Regions from separate parts of the Homo sapiens genome. Here all the other regions are linked to region 6. The links are contacts of gene promoters, found by promoter capture Hi-C in blood cells and fetal thymus (Javierre and others, 2016). All regions are on one chromosome and are shown on one strand. Each heading gives the region's core, a stretch centred on a gene start or on the middle of the fragment in contact. The rest is flanking DNA. Distances are from core to core; before and after follow the strand shown. Region 1 overlaps TRD-AS1 (TRD antisense RNA 1). Region 2 has its middle 3.6 kb from the start of TRD-AS1. Region 3 overlaps TRD-AS1 (TRD antisense RNA 1). Region 4 overlaps TRD-AS1 (TRD antisense RNA 1). Region 5 has its middle 150 kb from the start of TRD-AS1. Region 6 holds the start of MMP14 (matrix metallopeptidase 14). Region 7 has its middle 110 kb from the start of TRD-AS1.

Region 1 (2,724 bases), core at 183-2,682, 380 kb before region 6:
TAGGAGAGGAGCAGAAGGTGTCTGTAAAAAAAGAGTTTGGGGCATATGAAGGGACCCTTCTGGCTCAGAGGAAACAGAGAACTCTGCCCAGTCCATCGAATTTGGGTCAGGCTGTAGAAACCACAGAGTCATTGGCCCAACTCCCTGAGCAGAGTCAGAATGGACACAGAATGAAGCTGACTTGAGTCCAGGTGGTTTTACCAACGTGATTCCAAACGTTCTGACCTCCCTTATGCCAAACACATCCTCCTGGAAGAGCTCAGAACTGAATCCGTCTCCTGGGCATGGAGGGTGGGGCGAGCGCAAGTAGTCCCTGGTGTTGCGATATTTCTCTTTAGAAGAAAATAACCTGTTTCAGACATTTGTTTCTAATTGTTTGAGCTGCAAATGAAAACTAGGTTACTAGTGAGAAATATGGGACATTCTGGTTCCCACTGAGACCAGATTCCAAGCAGGACAAAGTGAATGTGTAGTGCTTCCAACTAAGAAATGCTTTGAAGTCTCCAGGACACAGCCAGGAGAGTTCCCTACCACTCACCAGTGTTCATCGTTTTTGCAAAGAGTATATGGTGCCAGTCACTTATTAACAGTTATGCAAGAATCAATGCTAAGGTTGTTGAAGGATTGTGCTCAACACAGAAGGCATCTTTGGTGTCCTTTCAATGACATTTGAATTCGACCGTGTCTTGCTAAAAAATAAAATAAAATAAGACAGTGGTCTCCACCTGGCAGCAGATTCCAGTTAGATAGTACATATTAATCTTAAGTAAGAAAATGTAATAAACCAATACAAAAACCCATTTCGAAGGTCCTAGGGAAGTCTAGCAATAGGGGTCAGTGGTCCCAAATCTGCCCAACCAGCTGTTGGAAAAGAAACAGCATGCCCTGCCCTGGCTGGGACTTTGGCACTCAGCTCAGGTTTTTCAAGGTAAAAGAAGGCTCTAGAGAGATAGGGTGGTGATGGTGGGCTCTTCTCAGAGACCAAATGGGGACAAAGCAGTTCCAGGCATATGCAGGCAAGGAGGCTGAGGAAGGGGAAGGACAGGCATGAGCAACCCAAGACCTCACACACTGCAGGGAGAAAAGGGGCAGGGGCCCTGCCGTCAGGGAGAAAGACACCCAAAGTTGTGCTAGTGGAGTCAGTGCAGAGATGTTCAGACTTTTTTAAAAAATCAACATCTTAGTAAGATTTTGAAATTTTAACTAATTTGGGCCTTTGCCTTTAGACCTTATTATCCTTAAAATTTTCACTAAAATAAGTTTATCCACAATTCCAACAAAGCTAAAGACTGATTATCCTAATTTCCCTTTGTTTGCCAAGTAAGGGATGAATTAAGTTCCTCTGTTTACCCATTTACTTGGTCCATATTTCCCTAACTGCGGAGTGCACAGCACATATTTTCAGATGGAGAGACGTTCTTTTTATTTGCATGGATCTATCTTTTAATGGCTATCAGAATAGTACAACTAGGCTATCAAACCCATGTGATTTCAAGTTTCCTTTTAATTATATTTTAAGTTAAAAAGTGAATAAATTTTTTTAAATTATTAAGCAAATTATGACAGATGACTATGACCAAAAAAGCGGGGGAGATGTGCTTAATTGAAGTTTGGGAAGTGCTGAACTTCATATTGGTGCATTTCATCAGCCTTTGAAGTGAAAAAGTAAGGGGTATCCAGAGGGGGCACAACCTAGAATATCTTTGAATGGCAGCTTCTATTTTTAAGCTACCAACATTGGATTAAAGAGACTGCACTGCAAACCCAGGGCCTTTATCTTCTCAGAAGCCTTTTGATGCTTTTTTTTTCCTTGGGAGCTTCTTTCAAGTTCTTACTTACGGAGCTCCTGGGTAGCACAAAACTAACAGAACAGGTCTATACAAACCCACAGCTGTAGATCCCACACTTTAGTCCTCTGGATACAGTAAACCTGGAGAGACCACTTAGCTTCGTAAAACAGAACAGAGAAACAGGACAAAACAGCATGGAATAAAGTAATGGAAACGTGTACTTCTATGGTAACAACAGCGGCAGTGGGGAAAAGAGGCATGGTCGTTGGGAACATCTGCGTGGAAGTGGGCCATGTGATGGACTTTGAATGCAATCTATTATTGTATGTCACAATTATGTAACTACCACTTTTTGAGTGCCTACCATTTATTAGGCCACTGGGCTAAGTCCTTTAATGATTATCACTTCACTCAGTCCTCACTACGATCATGTGGAATTGAGGTACCATGACTTGCGTTTTATGGATCAGGAAACTGAATCTTAAAGGGGTTCCTCAAGATCACACAGCTTAGTAAAGTCATCATTTGAATCACCTGCTTGATGCCAGCATCTGTGCTCTTAAGAAGTCTGCTCTTCCATCAGGGCTGCAGCTAGACTAGGGCATGTGTGGAGGTTTTTCCTGCCTGGCCCAGCCTCTGCCTCAGGTCTCTAATGAGCTCCTTTTCAAGCTGAATCAGAAACAACAGTTATGCCACTTCCCTTCCAGTGCCATCCCCATCACTTCTCTCACCAAGGAAGAACTTCTGAACCCCCGCCAAAACCAGTTACCCAAAGCAGCATTCCCCTTCCCCAGGAGGAGCCAGGTGAGGCCCATCTCTCACATTACACCCCTGGAGACCCAGGGTCCCTAAATACAGAAAGGTCCAGACGATGATCAGAGCATCACTCTTTCCCTCAAGAAAAGGAGTCCACATAATTCTGGCCTCATCAAAA
Region 2 (2,700 bases), core at 17-2,516, 350 kb before region 6:
ATCATGAAACTGCCTGGATTTTGCTCTTCACATTTTTTGTGACATCCAGACACAGCCAGGGTGACTCCCAGGATTCCTGTGGTTGTGTCTGTTGGCAACAGAAGCATTATTTGGTCAAGGGATGAAATTTACAGGAACCCCAAGTAAATGTGCAAAAGCCTGCCCCTAATAGAGACCTCACTTAACCCTACCACTGTGGTCACCGGGCTGCTCTGTGAGGTCAGAACACCTCAGGTGAGACTGTGGAGTAACCAGATGTCCTGGTTTTCCTGGGTTTCAGGGGTTTTCCAGGACAAAGGTCATTCTTTGCTAAGCCCAGAATGATCCCCAGGATAGTTAATCACCGTAAGAAGGCACAGATAAAAACTTTTTTCTGTGAGCTACTACTTACATTTCACCAAATTCAAGACTGACAAAAAAACTACGTTGTGTGAAAGCTCAGTTACATGTGCCCATCATTTTTATTTCTTATGCTAGGGCATGAAGGGAAGCTCAGGAGATCCTGTTTCATGAGGCTACAGTCTAAATCTCATCTAATTCTAGTCATTCTCCAAAAAGCTGAACACTCTCCTCTTGTCTCCTTGTAATCAATTCATTGTCATCAGAAATGTGTGACACCTCGAGGGGAGGGGAGGACGTGTCTTGAAAACTGATCAGAGAAATTGTCCTGAAAATGATGCTGTAAAATGGAAATGAGACCTTTAGAAAGAGAGATGCTGAACATGAGAAATCAGTAAGCCTCAAGACAAAAACCAGAGGAAATGGAGAGAGATGGGAGGCAGGAAGCCGGACCTCGGGGGACGCAGCAGGTCAGTGTCCCAGGACCAGAGGTGGAAATGGTCTTCCAGCCTTTGGTGGGATGAAACTGAGCCTCACAGACCCAGGCCCCTTTGGGTGAGTTTATTCTCCCCAGAATTAAAAGAGGAGGAAGTCTGCGAGCTTCAGAAGTCCCCCTAGGGTTCTTGTAAAGGCCTCCAGTGCAGTGCTAATGCTGGTGGTACTAGCTATGGAAAGCTGACATTTGGACAAGGGACCATCTTGACTGTCCATCCAAGTAAGTGTAACAAGACACAGCAGTATACTGGAAATTCTGGAATGTCACCCCAGTGTCAGGTTTTAAAGAACCAGATATTGCTTAAAGTTAAGTGGTGTCCTCTGAGGTCCTTTCTCTTCTTTAACCTCAATATTCACAGATTTTCTTTTGGACCCTGAGTTGTTAGGTCTGTCTCCCTGCTGCGTGTACAGCTGACCTTGACCCTGGAAAGTCAGAATCTTTCCTGCTTTCAGTGTCTTCTCTGGAGGTGATGCCCTAACTTTTTTGAGGGGGAGGTCATCCTTTCCAAATGACTCCCCTGAGTAACCTGTTCTAATGTTTAGTAGCATTCCCTGTCAGAAGTCCTTCCTTACCTCAATCTTAAATTATTCTTGGTATAGCCGAGGCCGTTTCCACCAGCATCATCCACAATAAAGAGGAAAATTGAGAGCGGAGTTTGAATAGGTATGTGGTATTTGGTTCAGAATGGGTTTTAAATGAAAGTGGAGAGGGAAAAAATGAAACCTGAATGGGAATCTGAGGTCTTATTTCAAATCCCTCTCTGTTTCCTGTCTGTCATCTCCTTTTGCTTCTATAGATGCAAAACTACAGAGAGAGAGGCGGGGAGAGAAAGGATAGACAGAAATAAACATCCACTGTGTCCATTCCCTGTCACTGAAACCACCAGGCAAGGGATTACAATTAATTCCAAAGAGTTTCAGATACACGGCTTAATACCTTTCTCCTTGTGGTGACTTGTATCCTGGCTGATAATTAGAGCAGATAGAAAGATTTGGCTTTGGTGTGTTTGCCGCTGCACCCCGCTGGGAAGAGACAGAAACTTGACTGTTTTTTAAGATTCATAAAGTTCCTTCTGTCAGTCGTTGTAAAACTCCCTGAAGCAGGGAGATGCGTGACAGCTATGAGAAGCTGATATTTGGAAAGGAGACATGACTAACTGTGAAGCCAAGCAAGCTGGAAAGACCTAAACTCACAGTGTTCCTTATGTACTTTTGCTCCCTTCCCCGTTTCAGGCCTTTTGGCTGTTTCCTGTAGGGATTCTAAGAGAGTCAAATGGAAATGGATTGAAGAGAGTCTGAAGCCCCGTGGGTGCTCAGAAATGATAAATGAAAGGAATAAGAGACAGAAAGGGAAACAAAGTTGAAAAGCAGGAATATGTCTTTCACTGCAGCTTGATAAGACTGAGATGTGAGGTGGGTGTCAGAGAAGGGCATGATCGCTCCAGCTGCTATTGCAGAACACTCTGTTTTCCTAGGATCTCTATCAAGGGCAGTGTCCTCTTATGCCAAAGGGATGAGTCAAGTCCCTATATTTCTGGAGTAGCTGCCCTTGTGCAGGCATAGTTGGTCAGGCAGACAGCACAATCCCAGCTCAGTGTGTATGGAGGAGGCCACCTGACATTGCCAGCTGTATCTGCTCCATTCAGTGGCAGCATAAATCCATACCAGGTGGGTGTGGATTTGGAATATGCCAGTGCCACTACAAGGCTGAATGTTGAGTTGTTGTGATCATCTTGAATGTGTGAGATGCCTCCAAGTGAAGTCTGGTTCTAATGAGCAGGGTGCAGGTTGGACCAATATTGCCCATTTTCTGTTGAGTTTCTCCAAGCCCAGTAGTGTGGGAGCCAACATTGAGAGACTGACATT
Region 3 (2,700 bases), core at 14-2,513, 450 kb before region 6:
TTATTGGCACTAACAGCAGGGCCTGGAGGTGGCCACACTCTTGTGGAAGGACCATGCAGAGCTGTCCCTGTGGGCAGTGTAGGTGCATAGCCAAGACTGAGGGATGTTTTAATAACTACTTCTCAATAAGAAGTCCTATTTTATTCTGCACAGGGGTGTGGACCCAATCCAGGTCTCCCAGGAGGAATCTACTCTCACCCATAATAGGGGATTGGTTCAGCTCAGCTGCGCTCACAAAGGGCTATACAGCATGCAGCAGTACAGGCAGCTCCCCGCAGCTCCATGTGAAAATGACTCACAGCAGTTATGAACATCAAACCTCCTTTGATGTGTTCCCAGACATGAAGAACAGCCACGGGAGGAGGAGACGGACTCTGGTTGCTAGCTCTGTGGGGTGGCGCACAGAGGGCCTGGACACATCTGGTACCATCCTGAAGCTCCAGGAGAAATTCAGGCTGGGTAATTACCTAGGACTTCCTAGGATAACAGAGCTTCTTTCATCTATCTCTCTCCCTCCCTCTCACTGTCTTTCTGTCTCCAGCTACAAGGGAATTAGATTCTCCAAGGAATTACAACCTGTTTCTGTACCTTCACCTTTCCCGAGGAGATAACAATTCACATCCCTGAATAAAAGTTGTTTTATTGAGCACAAAATGAATGCACCCCCCTCGCTCAGCATCTGTGCCAATTGCCTTAAAGCTATAGACCTGGCCTCCATCAGCCAAGTGAAAGGATTTTCCTCTGTCATGGCCATTTCCAGACTCTCAGCCTTTTGAGTAGCCACATGGTACCTTGTCCTCCTAATAGGCTCTCAATGATGATTGAATACAAAGGCTCTAATTCTCTGTTGCATTGGCAGCTCCCAAGACTGGGTCGATCACAATCGTCCACAGCAGAAGACAGCGGTGCTGACGGTCAAATGAGCATCAGGGCACACAGCAGAAGGGGAGGGTCAGCCACTGTCCCTTCATGCCCATTTCAACAGAAAGCTTATTTATATGCAAGAGGTGTTCCCCTTCCAGACAGGGTTCAAGAGCACATTGGTCCCTGGAAACTTGAGCAAAGTCTTCACGGTTATAGAAGGGAGTGGCAAAGGACATGTAGGAGAGAATCAGTTCCACCCCATGCCTGCACATTTCATTTTCTGAAATGAAAAGCTCTCATACACTCACAGAGATCTGCACATACCCACACATGGAAATAGCATAAACAGCTACTCTTTACTGAGCAGTGACCACGTGTCAGGCACAATGCCTCGGGCTTCACATGCATCATCTCTAATCCTCATCGACGTTCTGGGTGTGGGAGTGAAGGCATCCCTGTTTTATGGATGAGGAACCTAAGGTCAGAAAGGCTAAGAAACTTTCTTAAGATTGAACAACTATGGTAGAAGAGCTACAATTCTAGATGGTTGGATTCCAAAGCATCATCTCTTAACCACTGTACTATGGGGCAATATGCTTATAAGCAAGTGCTTACTCTGTTGGAGGCACTGGGGTTATGAGATAGTGCAGGAAAGACATAGTTATTCACTTCGCAAAGCTTCATTTTTACCGCACACTCATGCACACAGTGCTACACACACACATGCAGAGTTACTATAACTGTGGTGTCTTCCAAGAGCCCTGTCACTAAGGTATCCTCAGTGTCGTACTCTCAGTCCTCCTGCACTTGAACCACAGTTTGAATTGTGCATAGGGTAAAGACTGAGGTCTTCTACAGAAAGGCCTAAGCTGCTTGAACTTTACAGACAATTATGTGAGCAATTCAACCTTTTATACATTATGCTGTAGTTACCCAGCTCCTGAACTAGTCATCAGGTATTTTATTTGTTTTTTAACGTGATCAGGAAGTTTCTCTGACTCATTTCTCTATCTTTGCAGAGGAACAAGGTAGGAGAGCAACAGGGGCAGGAACAGAGAGGATTTCAAGCTTGATGAAGGTTCAGTAAGTCAAGTCATAGGTCAACTAGAAGAAATAAAGCAGGGGAAGATTTGGGGTGGGGCTGAAGCTCCATTGTTTCCATGACACCATAAGATAAGTGGTGATCTAGGTGATCTAGGTGTGCAAAGGTGAAACAAAACGAAAGACGCAAACATTGTACTAGTTTCAGGTTTTGCCAAGAGCAGATTGGCTGCCAAGGCTACTTCAGCCTTGACTCATATAGATCCATGATCTGGGAGGCAAGACAGCGTCCTGCTGTGCTGGACATCTCAGTGACATTGACCCAACTGGGGGAACTCCCTGAGGTTAAGAAAACCTCCCTCCAAGGCTGAGTTAATGAACTACCTAGATGTAAGACAGGAGACTGAAAACATTTAAGTCCCAGGAAAAATGCAGACTTACCTTCTTATGACCTAGATCTCTTTGCAAATCTAATGAAAAAGGTTTGTTATGCACAAATGTTTCCCTCCAATTTTATTTCAGGAGATTTGTGCTCTTTCCTGGACTGCCCCTGAACCTGGAGGTAATAATTCTAGATCAAAGTCTCCCTAGAACCTTGAAAAGGGTGGACTGAGAAGACTGGATATACAGCTCTAGGCAACCAGTCCTCCACTGCCACCACCATGCTTTCTAATCTCCAGGGGAGCCTGGTCATCTTGCTGGACAATTGCTGTTTCTCCTGACAAAATCCAAGTTAGGAAACTGACAGGGTCTTTGTTTCTATTTCTCTCTATGCCTATCTCTCAAGGTGCCCTG
Region 4 (2,700 bases), core at 191-2,690, 430 kb before region 6:
TTCTCATTCATCCACAAGCAAATAAGGAAGTGGATTAATATTTACTGAGTCAATATACTTTTTACCACACCACGATGGATTATCCATGGAAACCCAGAATCTTGTGCCACATACCTTCAATTCAAGATCAAGCCAAAAAAAAAGATCCACAAATTATTGGTGTCTGATTAAGTCTGATTGGGAAGAAGAGGAACAAGAGACACAAGAATGTGTGCGTCCAGTGGTCCAATCCTGCAGGATGAATGAGGACATGAAGTTCTGGCCCGTGATGGATTGGGGTAATGTAGAACCAGAGGTTGGCCTGGGGTTAGCATGAAAAATAGCCTAGAGACAAGGAGGAGGAAATCCTGGGAGAAAATACCTGGACTGCCCAACAATCTGAGGGTCTGCGCACAATGAAAAAAGAAACCAGACAAAAATTAAAGTAAAAAACCTGGAGAAATTTAAATAATTCCTGTGCTTACTAGCAGGTAATTAAGGAAGCATTTTATGTAACATCTGAAGCCTCAGATTTAGGGGGAGACAGGGCCACTGAAGGCCCTAGCATAGTAAGGGCATGGACCAAGTTTCTCTGCAGAAATCCCGAAGCCAAATGAGCGATATGAACACCCACTATTATTTTTGTATTATTCATTTTCTTTTTTTCTTTCTTTCTTTTTTTTTTTTGAAACGGAGTCTCATTCTGTCACCCAGGCTGGAGTGCAGTGGCGTGTTCTCAGCCTACCATACCCTCCTCCTTCCAGGTTCAAGCAATTCTTCTGACTCAGCCTCCCGAATAGCTGGAATTACAGGCACCCACTACCACGCCTGGCTAATTTTTGTATTTTTAGTAGAGACGGGGTTTCGCCATGTTGGCCAGTCTGGTCTCGAACTCCTGACCTCAGGCGAATCGCCTGCCTCAGCCTCCCAAAGTGCTGGGATAACAGGCGTGAGCCACCGTGACCAGCCTGTATTGTTAATTTTCTTCCCCCTCCACTGGTAAGGACAATTGAGAGTTGACTAAATTCTTATTATTGTTGCCTCCACTGTTCTGCTTTCTGTGATTCTTATCCATCATGAGAAGGGCTGACTTGGAAGAGTTCAGAGCAGTGAAGAGAAATCCCAGAGAGTGTCTGCCAACACTCAAAAAGACTTTGAATTTGACGTCAGAATAGGAATAGGCTTGCCACTCTCACCAGCCTCCCAAGAAGAGTCATTGGGCAGGCTGGATGGCTAGAAAAAGAAGATACCTGTCTGATGCCCAAAGGCAGCTAGAAGGCATCCTGGCTTCAGGAACAGTGCCATCACCTGGCTGCCCTCACAAAGAGGTCATCCAACATTGTGAAACCATGACTATGAGTGAAAGGCAAGAGAAAATAAGGGAATCTGAAACCATGTGAATATGCCACTTCCTCTGCATCACGGGACACCAGAGACGGGCAACGAAGAGAATGTTACTTCTATCATATAACACATTCTCGATTCGGAAGGTGCCACAGCCTTGAGAAAGTCCTCATTACACCATCTTGAAAGCTCTCAGGGATGATATAGGTAGGGTCCAAATAAGAAAATGGACTCAAGGAAATCCAAATTGTGACCTTCACTTTGAACAATTAAAATTTTAAACAGAAAATTAGAATCGTTGAATTTGAAATCCAGAAAGGATCTTAAAAACAAAGTAGGAATCCCCTCATTCAGTTTAAATGTTCACTAAATATTGAATGAGTAAGTGATCACCCAGCCTCAATTCAAATATTTTCAATGACAATTCTTGTTTCAAAAAATCTGTCCTATACCAAATCAAAATTTGCCTCCCATAACTTCATATCTTTATATTTGTTATGCCTTCCAGAGCAACGCAGACTAAGTTCACCTTCGCATATTCAAATATTTAAAGATAGCTATCCTGTATAACCATTCCTCATGACTGTCTAATAAATTTTAAACTCCTTGAGAGAAGCATCCAAGTTCAATATATTTTCCTGTACCAATGCAATTCTTAATAGAGTGACTCATCTGTAGCGGGTAGTCAGCAAATGTGAGTTGAATACATGAATTAATATCTATGTGTCCACCTGACCAACAGTTCTACTCGGGTGTCTCAAAGGCACTTCAGCTCAACTCCAAGACTTAAATCAAGATCTTCCTTGCAAATATGGCCCTAGCCTAAGATTCCCTATCTGAAGGAATAACACCATCATTTCAAACCCATCCACTGCTCTCCATCCACTGCCACCAGCCAGGTCAAAACTACCATTTTCTTCTTTGGATTGTTTCTATAGCCTTTTGAGTAAGTTAGCCGGCCTCTGGTACTATTCAGTATCTCCTCCCCACAGCAGCCAGAGTGATCTCTCCAAAATACAAATATGATCATGTCATGCCCCTGATTAAAAATCCTTGAGTAACTTCCCATTGCAGATAGGCAAATGACCAAAATCCCTAAAAGTCCTCTAAGACCTTGCACAGTCTGACTCCTCACCTCTTCTGCCATACCTCTCACTCTTCTCTCCCTCATTTTCCAAACATGCCTTCTTCCATCTATTAAATACTTGAATGTACCGGGTGCCTTCCCACCCCAGGGTCTTTGCAACACTTCTCCCACTCCTCATCCCCTGTTTAACTCCTATTGAAAGGAGTTAAACAAAAAAGATCAAAGCCTACACATCCGCTTTTCAGAGGCATCTTGAGATCTCCTAACAATTTCAGGTTGTTTATTCTTTA
Region 5 (2,700 bases), core at 17-2,516, 510 kb before region 6:
TTCTTAAGAATATTTCTGTTATCCCTATAATTACTGTCGTGTCTCTCCAGGCATTCTTTTTTAGTGAACAGTTGTCATTAATCACTTCCAGAAAGGATTCAAACACCATCTCTACATTTATCCTTCCAAGTGCTGTGACTATTGCCTTGCGAACTACATTTTCCAGGCTCCCTTGCAGCTAAGGTGCAGATCTGTATTCAGCCAAGTATTTGATTGGGAGATGAGCCATATGAGGAACAGGTTAGGCAGGGGCATCCCTTTTCTTGGTTTAGGGGCAGTGGAGGCCATGTGGTCTGGGTTAGGCAGCAACAGCATCTTCTTGATTGGGCCAGGAGCAGTAACTTCCTGTTTGGGCCCATTTGGCTGCATATTCTGTTGCTGGCAGCACTGGAGGCAGCTGGCATAGGGATAGGACTGCAGCCTTCTTATGAGGCTGATGGATGGGTGGTTCTGGGCATCACTCCTGGAAGTCGAGCCTAGAATCTTTTTCTCCAGTCTGCCCAATGATTCTATGAGCCTTCTGCCTCCCCAAATCCTGATCTGCTTACACTAGGTAAAGCGATTTCCTTTCTTTCTTGTCCCTTAGCACACAGATATCTCACAGTGTTTAGTCTGAGACCCACCACAGCTTTCATTCCAGCATCCTTTAAGCTGAGTATCAGACCTGGTTCACTTTTTCACTGCAGTACACTTGGCTCATTCCAATGAGGATGACTTCATGTTTATAGTGATTTCTGGTTCCTTTGCTTGGAAATCCTAAAAGATAGAAAAGAGTCTCCAGTTGCTGCAGACGCAGGCATGAGATATACCGAAAACTCTCCAAAATTGTCTCTTGGAATGTTTCTTCATTACTTCACTAGGTTTCTTTCTAACCTTCAGAGCTAGTAAGGACCTTGGATTAAAAGGGCCATTGAATTTCTAGTTTAGTTAAGAAATATTTTCCTCATTTCATGGGAGTGGGGAAGCAGTGCAGACTAAACTCAGAGCCCACATCATGTTGTTCTTACCAGTTCAAATCAAATCACGGTTTCCAGTCACTTGGCTAATATTTATCCTTCTTTAAATCTTGATGAAATGTCTCTTCCTCAATGAACACTTCTCTGCCCCTCAACCTAAATTTGTTCCCCTCGTGTTACTGTTTTAAAGAACCCTGTAATTTCTATGTATTTCTGTGTGATTATTTGTATAATATCTGTCCTTCCTATTAACCTCTAAGTTCCACTAAATGCTCTGTGTTCAGAATAGTGCCTGGCACAAAGGAGTATGACAAATAGTGATGAGTGAATGAATCTGAGCCATCAGACATGTATCTTACTTTGTGTTGGGCTGTCCCTCAAGTGTAGATGTTCCTAGTGACAATCCCATTAATTCAAACACTGACTGGAGAGGATTGAAAACATATGAAGCAGTGCTTTTGGAACTGAGGCTGTAGTCCAATATGACTGGAGATAAAAAATGAAGACTTTAAAAACAGAATTCACATAAAAGCAGGTATCAACATGGAAAACTGCAGAGGATGCCTGTATACACAGTGGGCACAGCAGCAGCATTAGACCAATCACCTCCAAACTTGAGGTTCCAGGCTGAGGTGACAGATCAGAGTGAACCAGGCACTGTAGAACAATGGGAACACTTAGATTCCTGACACTGGAATTTGCTGATTCTTCTACTAACGTGTAGCAAGAAATTTAGCCTTACCCAAAGTCAGGTCTGGTCTTTGTCCCAGTTCCTGGGAGATAACCTCTGAAGGCTCGGAATTTCCTGAATTGTTGGCATGTCTTTATAATTGATGGTGGGGTCCTTGGACCGCACTTAATAGTTTCTGCTATCAAGATGACTCATTGTGAGGCTGGCCACAATCAATGGTCTCAGGATGGGGGCTGGCCATGCCAGAAAGACCAACCATATAACATAGGGTGGAGGGTTTGTGTCACAACCTAGAGAGTGAGTTCAACCACACAGGCTATCAGTCATCTGATATAATGAAGCCCCAATAAAAACTCTGGACACCAAAGCTCAGCTGAGTTTTCCAGACTGGCAATATTCCATGGGTATTGTCACGCCTTGATGCTGGGAGGGTAACTCATCCCTGAGGACAGTGGAAGTTTCACGTTTGGAACCCTACCAGACTCTGCCCTATGCATCTCATCCCTTGGCTGCTTTTAATGTATCCTTTCTCTGTAATAAACGAATCACAAGTATACTAGGTTTCAATGAGTTCTATGAGTCTTTCTAGTGAATTATGGAACCTGATTTAGGAAATACCCAACCTTGCCATTGGTGCCAGTAGTGAGAGTGGTCTTGCATGAACTTATCTCCCCTTTGTAGTTGAGTCCTAGCGACTTACAGTTGGGGGCAGAAGTCTTATGTAGATTTAGTCTGGAGGTCTATGACCTTAACCTTGCAGTTTGGCTAACTCTGGGTAGCTACATTTTGTATTGAGCAACTCTATATGAATAAAAGAAGTTTTGTTCATATAATGCCTTAACAGTGAATCAAGTATATCAAGAAAGTTTTTTAAAAGTTAAAAGTAGGCAAGTCTACTGGTAATAAAGTAGGCAAGTCACAAGGTAATTAAATGCCTACGTTTCAATGATTACACATGTTGCTTAGAACATACACATATATGAGATCATCACGTTAAAATATTTCTAACACACAGGCTGGCAACACCTAACAATAATAATAATTAGTAATTGT
Region 6 (2,700 bases), core at 130-2,629:
AATGCATTCCAGAGATTGGTTGAAGAGGGGCCTGTACCTCCCAACCCCAGCTTGTGTAGGAAAGCCCTACATAAGGGCTCAGCCCTCAGTCACTGTGGGGTAGGTAGCTGTTTAATAACACACACCATATACCTCCCACAAACCTGGAGGCTCCACAGGACCTGAAAAGCTTTTCATTTTATTGATCATGAATCTGAGGGCAAAAGACCTTTGTTTTCATTACAATACTGAGCACTAGACTTCTATTCTTCTGCCACAGAAGTGCATCCCTAGGATTTCTGGAGCTTCCTACCTGACCTAATTTCTGTCCACCCTCCTCTATTCCTTCCTTTGCTTTCTTCTCCCTTCCTCCTCGCACTACCTCTGTCCTCTCTCACTGGCCAAATGCAATTCTTGGATCTTAGATTTCGCTGATAGTCTAGTTTTCTGTCTCCCACACTTTTCCTGCTTCTGTTGTGCTTCTTTTCCAGACCTGTCTAGTTCCCAACTCATCTGTCTCCCTTTCTCACGGTCAGCTTTATCCTGCCCTCTCCCTTCCCTACATACCTCCACCTTTTGTTCTGAGTCCAGTAAGTCCCTAAAGGAGATTATAACTCTTTAAGAATTGCCTCCTTTTTCAGTGTAGAGGTGGAACTAAACCCCAGAGTCCCAACTCCCAATCCCTTCTTTTACAATAATTTCACCCAACTTGATTTGCTTTCCCCCAGATCCCACGGCCTTGTACCCTTTTCCTCCCAGCGAGTTCCAATTAAAGGTGCAGCCACATTACAAATGACAATAAAGGAATCACCTTTGTCTTTCTACAAAGGTTGGAGCCACAGATCCGGTATGGTTGTGGGGTTTGTTGTTGGTAGTTGGGTTATAGTTTGGATTTTTTAGCAGCAGAGGGAGGGACATAGACAGTTGTCTACAGGGCCCAGAAGATAACCCCCTATTAGTAAACTGGCCCCTTCTCCCTCTGCAGGTCTCATGGGCATGGAAGAAGACCCCACCACCATCCCACACTCTGAGCTCCTCGTTGCCCCTAGCCACATAGCCCCCAATAATTCCCACCCTGAGGTGAGACAAATGCTGAATACCAGAGGAATCAAGCCACTCAGAATATGCTTATAGGGACAAAGTCTCCCACATCCCGTCCCCTGGATCCCCCTACAGCCCCCTGCTGTCCATCGCGGCCTCAACCCCTGCAGATGGCAGCCTGCACCACAAAAAGGCAACTTAGAGGTGTTTTTTTTTTTTTTCCTTCCAGTTCTTGGTTGTAATTGGATTCAGGCTAAAACAACCACGTCCCCAACCAGGAAAGGAGGGCACTGGGGCGGGGACGGAGGAGAGGCTGTGGGAGAAGGGAGGGACCAGAGGAGAGAGCGAGAGAGGGAACCAGACCCCAGTTCGCCGACTAAGCAGAAGAAAGATCAAAAACCGGAAAAGAGGAGAAGAGCAAACAGGCACTTTGAGGAACAATCCCCTTTAACTCCAAGCCGACAGCGGTCTAGGAATTCAAGTTCAGTGCCTACCGAAGACAAAGGCGCCCCGAGGGAGTGGCGGTGCGACCCCAGGGCGTGGGCCCGGCCGCGGAGCCCACACTGCCCGGCTGACCCGGTGGTCTCGGACCATGTCTCCCGCCCCAAGACCCCCCCGTTGTCTCCTGCTCCCCCTGCTCACGCTCGGCACCGCGCTCGCCTCCCTCGGCTCGGCCCAAAGCAGCAGCTTCAGCCCCGAAGTAAGTGAGCTTCCCGGCCCTTCCCGGAGTCGCGCCCGCCGGGAGGCGAGCCCGGGGGTCTCCTAGGGGACAGCCTCTATTCGGAGAGGAGGGCTTTTGGGATCTCCGCTGCTCAGGCCTGCAGGATTCCCCCTCCCTTTCTTTTTCCTCTTCGTCTCCAAACTTCCAGATCGATCCAACTTTTGCCCGCTTCCAACCAGCTGCCCCCACCCCCTGCGCCGCCGACTCTCCTTCCCATTCCTTCTTTTTTCCCAGTCCTTGGAAGAACTTTACAACTGGGGCGAACTCCCCCTTCCCCGATTCCCTTGGGCTCTGCTCTCAGCTCTGGAACCGCCTGATAAACATTTGGACTCCGCTCAAACCCCGCGCTGTCCCGGCTCCTCGTCATGCGCGAGAGTTTGTTGTTTCTTCGACTTCCCAGCTCTCCAGCGCTCTCCCGCCGGCGCGCCCTCCGATGGGCGCTTCGGCCTCCCCGGGTGGCCCAGGCCTTCAGCGGACGAGTCTGCGGCCAGGTGGGGGTCGAGGGTGGACGGCCGAGCGTCCAGGGCCACAGCCCCCGTCTCCCCGAGAGGACCCCGCTGTGTCCCTACCCGCATCCCTGGCGTCGAGGGTCGCAGCGCCGGCGCGCTGGCCGCGTTTCCGTACACACAAAGCTCTCCTTGTGAGCCGGGCGATCGGCCGGGTCGCTGCCTCCCCCTATCCCCACCCGCGTCGGCGCCTTCAGGCCCTTTTTGTTGTTAATAGTTTTTCTGTGTTAATTGCAGGGAGCCTGGGGGCGTCGCTTGGGGAATGGGGAGAGGGTCTGGTCCGGGGTGCCCTCACGTCGGGGCTGGCTCGGGCGCCCCCCACCCTCACCCCGGCCCAGACGGTGGCCCACCGGGCCCCAGAGGAAGCTGCGTGGGAGTTGTCTGAGGAGGTTTTTCCTCTCTCTCTCTTATTTTGGGGTGAAGGTGGGAGACGGATTTAATGAGCTTCTTATT
Region 7 (2,700 bases), core at 8-2,507, 460 kb before region 6:
ACAGCAGCTGTGATTGTACTCACCACCTGATTAAGTTTACAATAATCCTTTGTCATTCTTCAAGATCCATCTGTCTTCTGCACAGGCCAGATAGTTGAGTTGAATGGAGGTGTGGTGAAAATCACCAGCCCTGCATCTTTTAAATCTTTTATAGAGGCACTAATCTCTACAAGTCTCTACAGAATGCAGTGCTGCTGTGGATTTACTAGTTTGGAATACAAAGGCAGTTCTAATGCCTTCTACTTGTCCTCACTCCTCAGATCAGATAATCAATGTAGTTATTCTGCCTTTCCTGAGTGTGCCTCCTTCAGTTAAGCATTCTAGAACTTGGGAAATAACCATGGGGTAAGTTCAGAGCTAACTGGATGCAATATGAGATGGACCTGAGCCAAAATACCATTAATCATTCAGCTTCAATAAACCCCTACTCTGGTAAATAGGCAATAGTAGCATATTGTGTCTCCAAGGACTGGTATCATTTCAGAGCCAATGTCCAGAAATCCCCCAAAGGTCTGGTTATTTACCCTTCCCAAATGCACTATGACCTTGGCAAATGGCTTTAGGTCTTTTCAGGGAAGGAAAGAAAGAGAAATTACAGTCTAAACTTTTGGAATGTAAATATAAATTAGAAAAAATCCTGCAGTCCTTTTGGCAGGCAGGGTACCTCATCATTTTGTTCCTGCCCTGATATGGGTTGCCAGGAGTTGAGTCTAGCTATAGGCATACAAACAGTGAAAGATGTTGGGGGTGAGTCTTGAGGGGTCTCAGCAATTTTCCACAGAGTAAGTCCTTACAGCCTTTTCAATCAAGGGAGGACTAAACTCCTCAGAGGGAAAGGCTGCTTCTGCTGGGAAAGGAGACAGGGCTTTCAAGGTTCTCAGCTTCCAAAGAATCTGCCTACATGTTGCCATCTCAATTTTCAGGGGAGGAAAGAAGGAGAAATTACAGTCTAAACTTTTGGAATGTAAATATAAATTAGAAAAATCCTGCAGCCCTTTTGGCAGGCATGGTACCTCATCATTTTGTTCCTGCCCTGATACAGCCTGCCAGCTCTGTCCCAATCAAAGCCCTAATTTTAACTGTAAGACCTTCAATTGAATTGATGTTCTAATCTAGCTAGCTGCAGGATCAGTCTTTGGGCTTGGTTTTTTGAAATATCAGATCTTGCAGCTATGAGAGATAAGAGTTTCTTTCAGAGTAGTCACAAAGACTTTTCAGTCCCTTGCCTGCATCTTGAACTGAACATTCAACACTCTGAGTTTATTTCTTTTTCTCCATATTCTCTGTGACACTTTGAAGCAACCCACAAACTCCAGTCCTCATACTCCTTACTTCCACTACATTGGTCTATGGCAGCATCTACCTGGTAATCTAACACCTTGCCTTCTATAAGCACTTGATATCAAGGACTACTGTGTCCCATTTACCATTGGCAGTATAGTCACTAATGCTTCATCGAATCAGAGAATCAACACCAAATTCCCATCCTTAAAATTCTATCTCTGGATTCACTTCCAACACCAATAGTTGTGTCAGTTAAGAGTCAGTCAGGGAAGCAGAACCACTGTGAATGATACAGAATATAGGAATAGTGGATTCGTTGTGGAATCAGACCTTACAAATGTGAGAGAAGCTAGAGAAGGAAAGGTCTGGAAGAAGGAGTCAGAAGATCAGAAAAAGGGTCATTAACCTGTCTATCTTATGCAGTAGCACAGATGGACCAGACAGGCTGGGGCTTGGGGGAAATCTAGGAAGCTAAACACTTTCAACCACCAAAGTGGGACTGTGAAGGGGAGCTCATGAAGAACTGTATGGAGAGTGGTTACCTGTCTGTAGCAACCACTTCTGTGGGTCCACAGCCAAGTAGTTGGTGATGGGTCTCGAGTCACTGTTGTTCAGCAGAGCCAAGAGTCAGAAAGATTCGCTGGATGCAGAGTGAAGGAAAGCAAGGACTATATGGGACCTACCAAGCATCTCTCCCTCTGTCCATCACTGTATGTGACCACAGTGACTTCCTAAGAGTAATAGTTACCACTTCTGTGTTCTAACTCTTTTCCCATTTCATCTCTTAGCCAATGCTAATACAGAGCGATACATGAAAGGGGATTCTGAGAAATGCAGTTGTCTGCTTAAGCAAGTTGACCAGCATAATCCAGCACAACTTCTAAATCTCAGAAGATAGCAAATGTGGGCAGAAAGAAAAGTACAGATGCTCCACGGGTTCACTGGTGATCTTTATGGCTGCAACTGACCTAGGATTTGGGAGATGCTTGGAGAGGGACAGAGGGGCACACAGGAACTTTCCTCTCAAATATGAGGATATCAATCTAGATCTACGAGGAGTCCTTTTGGAGATAAAAAGAAATTTATAGGAGATGATGAACAAAAGGCCCAATTTCTATATTAGACTGTCTCCCTGAATGAGGGTGAATACCAAGAGGAGACTGAGCCAAGGCCTCAGCCCTCTGAATTCTAAAATGTAGAGAACTTCATTCTGATCTATTTTATACAAATGGTGCTGGTCTCTCAGACAGTACCTTTTCCGATGAAAGAAAGAGAGAAACGAAGTAGAAGATTCGTAACCCAGCTCAGTAAAGAGGCTTACCTTTGCTCTTTGCTCACCATCATTCCCCCGCTCAAAGTCTCAGCTACCTGCCTCTGTGCAATAGCTACACAGTGCTCCTCAAGTATCTGCCTCCT

The links. Contacts are between HindIII fragments. The CHiCAGO score rates a contact against its expected background, and 5 or more counts as called.
Region 1: a fragment that was not itself captured here is called in contact with the fragment with the promoter of MMP14 in region 6 in 1 of 17 cell types (naive B cells); the score reaches 5.5 in naive B cells.
Region 2: a contact is called between a fragment that was not itself captured here and the fragment with the promoter of MMP14 in region 6, in 1 of 17 cell types (total B cells). The highest score is 5.5, in total B cells.
Region 3: a contact is called between a fragment that was not itself captured here and the fragment with the promoter of MMP14 in region 6, in 3 of 17 cell types (naive B cells, total B cells and endothelial precursors). The highest score is 19.3, in naive B cells.
Region 4: a contact is called between a fragment that was not itself captured here and the fragment with the promoter of MMP14 in region 6, in 1 of 17 cell types (total B cells). The highest score is 5.3, in total B cells.
Region 5: a fragment that was not itself captured here is called in contact with the fragment with the promoter of MMP14 in region 6 in 1 of 17 cell types (naive B cells); the score reaches 5.2 in naive B cells.
Region 7: a fragment that was not itself captured here is called in contact with the fragment with the promoter of MMP14 in region 6 in 1 of 17 cell types (total B cells); the score reaches 7.4 in total B cells.

What each region holds. Positions count from the first base shown.
Region 1 is chr14:22,450,288-22,453,011 of GRCh38, forward strand. The region is part of intron 2 of TRD-AS1 (TRD antisense RNA 1); the gene reads right to left. It also overlaps TRA and TRD. Among named protein-coding and RNA genes, the nearest start is that of TRD-AS1, 31 kb to the right of the region's middle. The HindIII fragment of the contact is 5,990 bases long and covers 1-2,724 here.
Region 2 is chr14:22,485,243-22,487,942 of GRCh38, forward strand. It overlaps TRA, TRAJ52 and the pseudogene TRAJ51. Among named protein-coding and RNA genes, the nearest start is that of TRD-AS1, 3.6 kb to the left of the region's middle. The HindIII fragment of the contact is 4,249 bases long and covers 1-2,700 here.
Region 3 is chr14:22,389,152-22,391,851 of GRCh38, forward strand. The region is part of intron 2 of TRD-AS1 (TRD antisense RNA 1); the gene reads right to left. It also overlaps TRA. Among named protein-coding and RNA genes, the nearest start is that of TRD-AS1, 92 kb to the right of the region's middle. The HindIII fragment of the contact is 553 bases long and covers 988-1,540 here.
Region 4 is chr14:22,405,890-22,408,589 of GRCh38, forward strand. The region is part of intron 2 of TRD-AS1 (TRD antisense RNA 1); the gene reads right to left. It also overlaps TRA. Among named protein-coding and RNA genes, the nearest start is that of TRD-AS1, 76 kb to the right of the region's middle. The HindIII fragment of the contact is 5,358 bases long and covers 1-2,700 here.
Region 5 is chr14:22,327,738-22,330,437 of GRCh38, forward strand. It overlaps TRA. Among named protein-coding and RNA genes, the nearest start is that of TRD-AS1, 150 kb to the right of the region's middle. The HindIII fragment of the contact is 6,538 bases long and covers 1-2,700 here.
Region 6 is chr14:22,835,206-22,837,905 of GRCh38, forward strand. MMP14 (matrix metallopeptidase 14) reads left to right here and starts at 1,380. Exons shown (of 10, transcript NM_004995.4): 1 at 1,380-1,720. The coding sequence starts at 1,613. RefSeq lists a silencer at 1,038-1,254. The HindIII fragment of the contact is 13,873 bases long and covers 168-2,700 here.
Region 7 is chr14:22,370,905-22,373,604 of GRCh38, forward strand. It overlaps TRA. Among named protein-coding and RNA genes, the nearest start is that of TRD-AS1, 110 kb to the right of the region's middle. The HindIII fragment of the contact is 3,763 bases long and covers 1-2,700 here.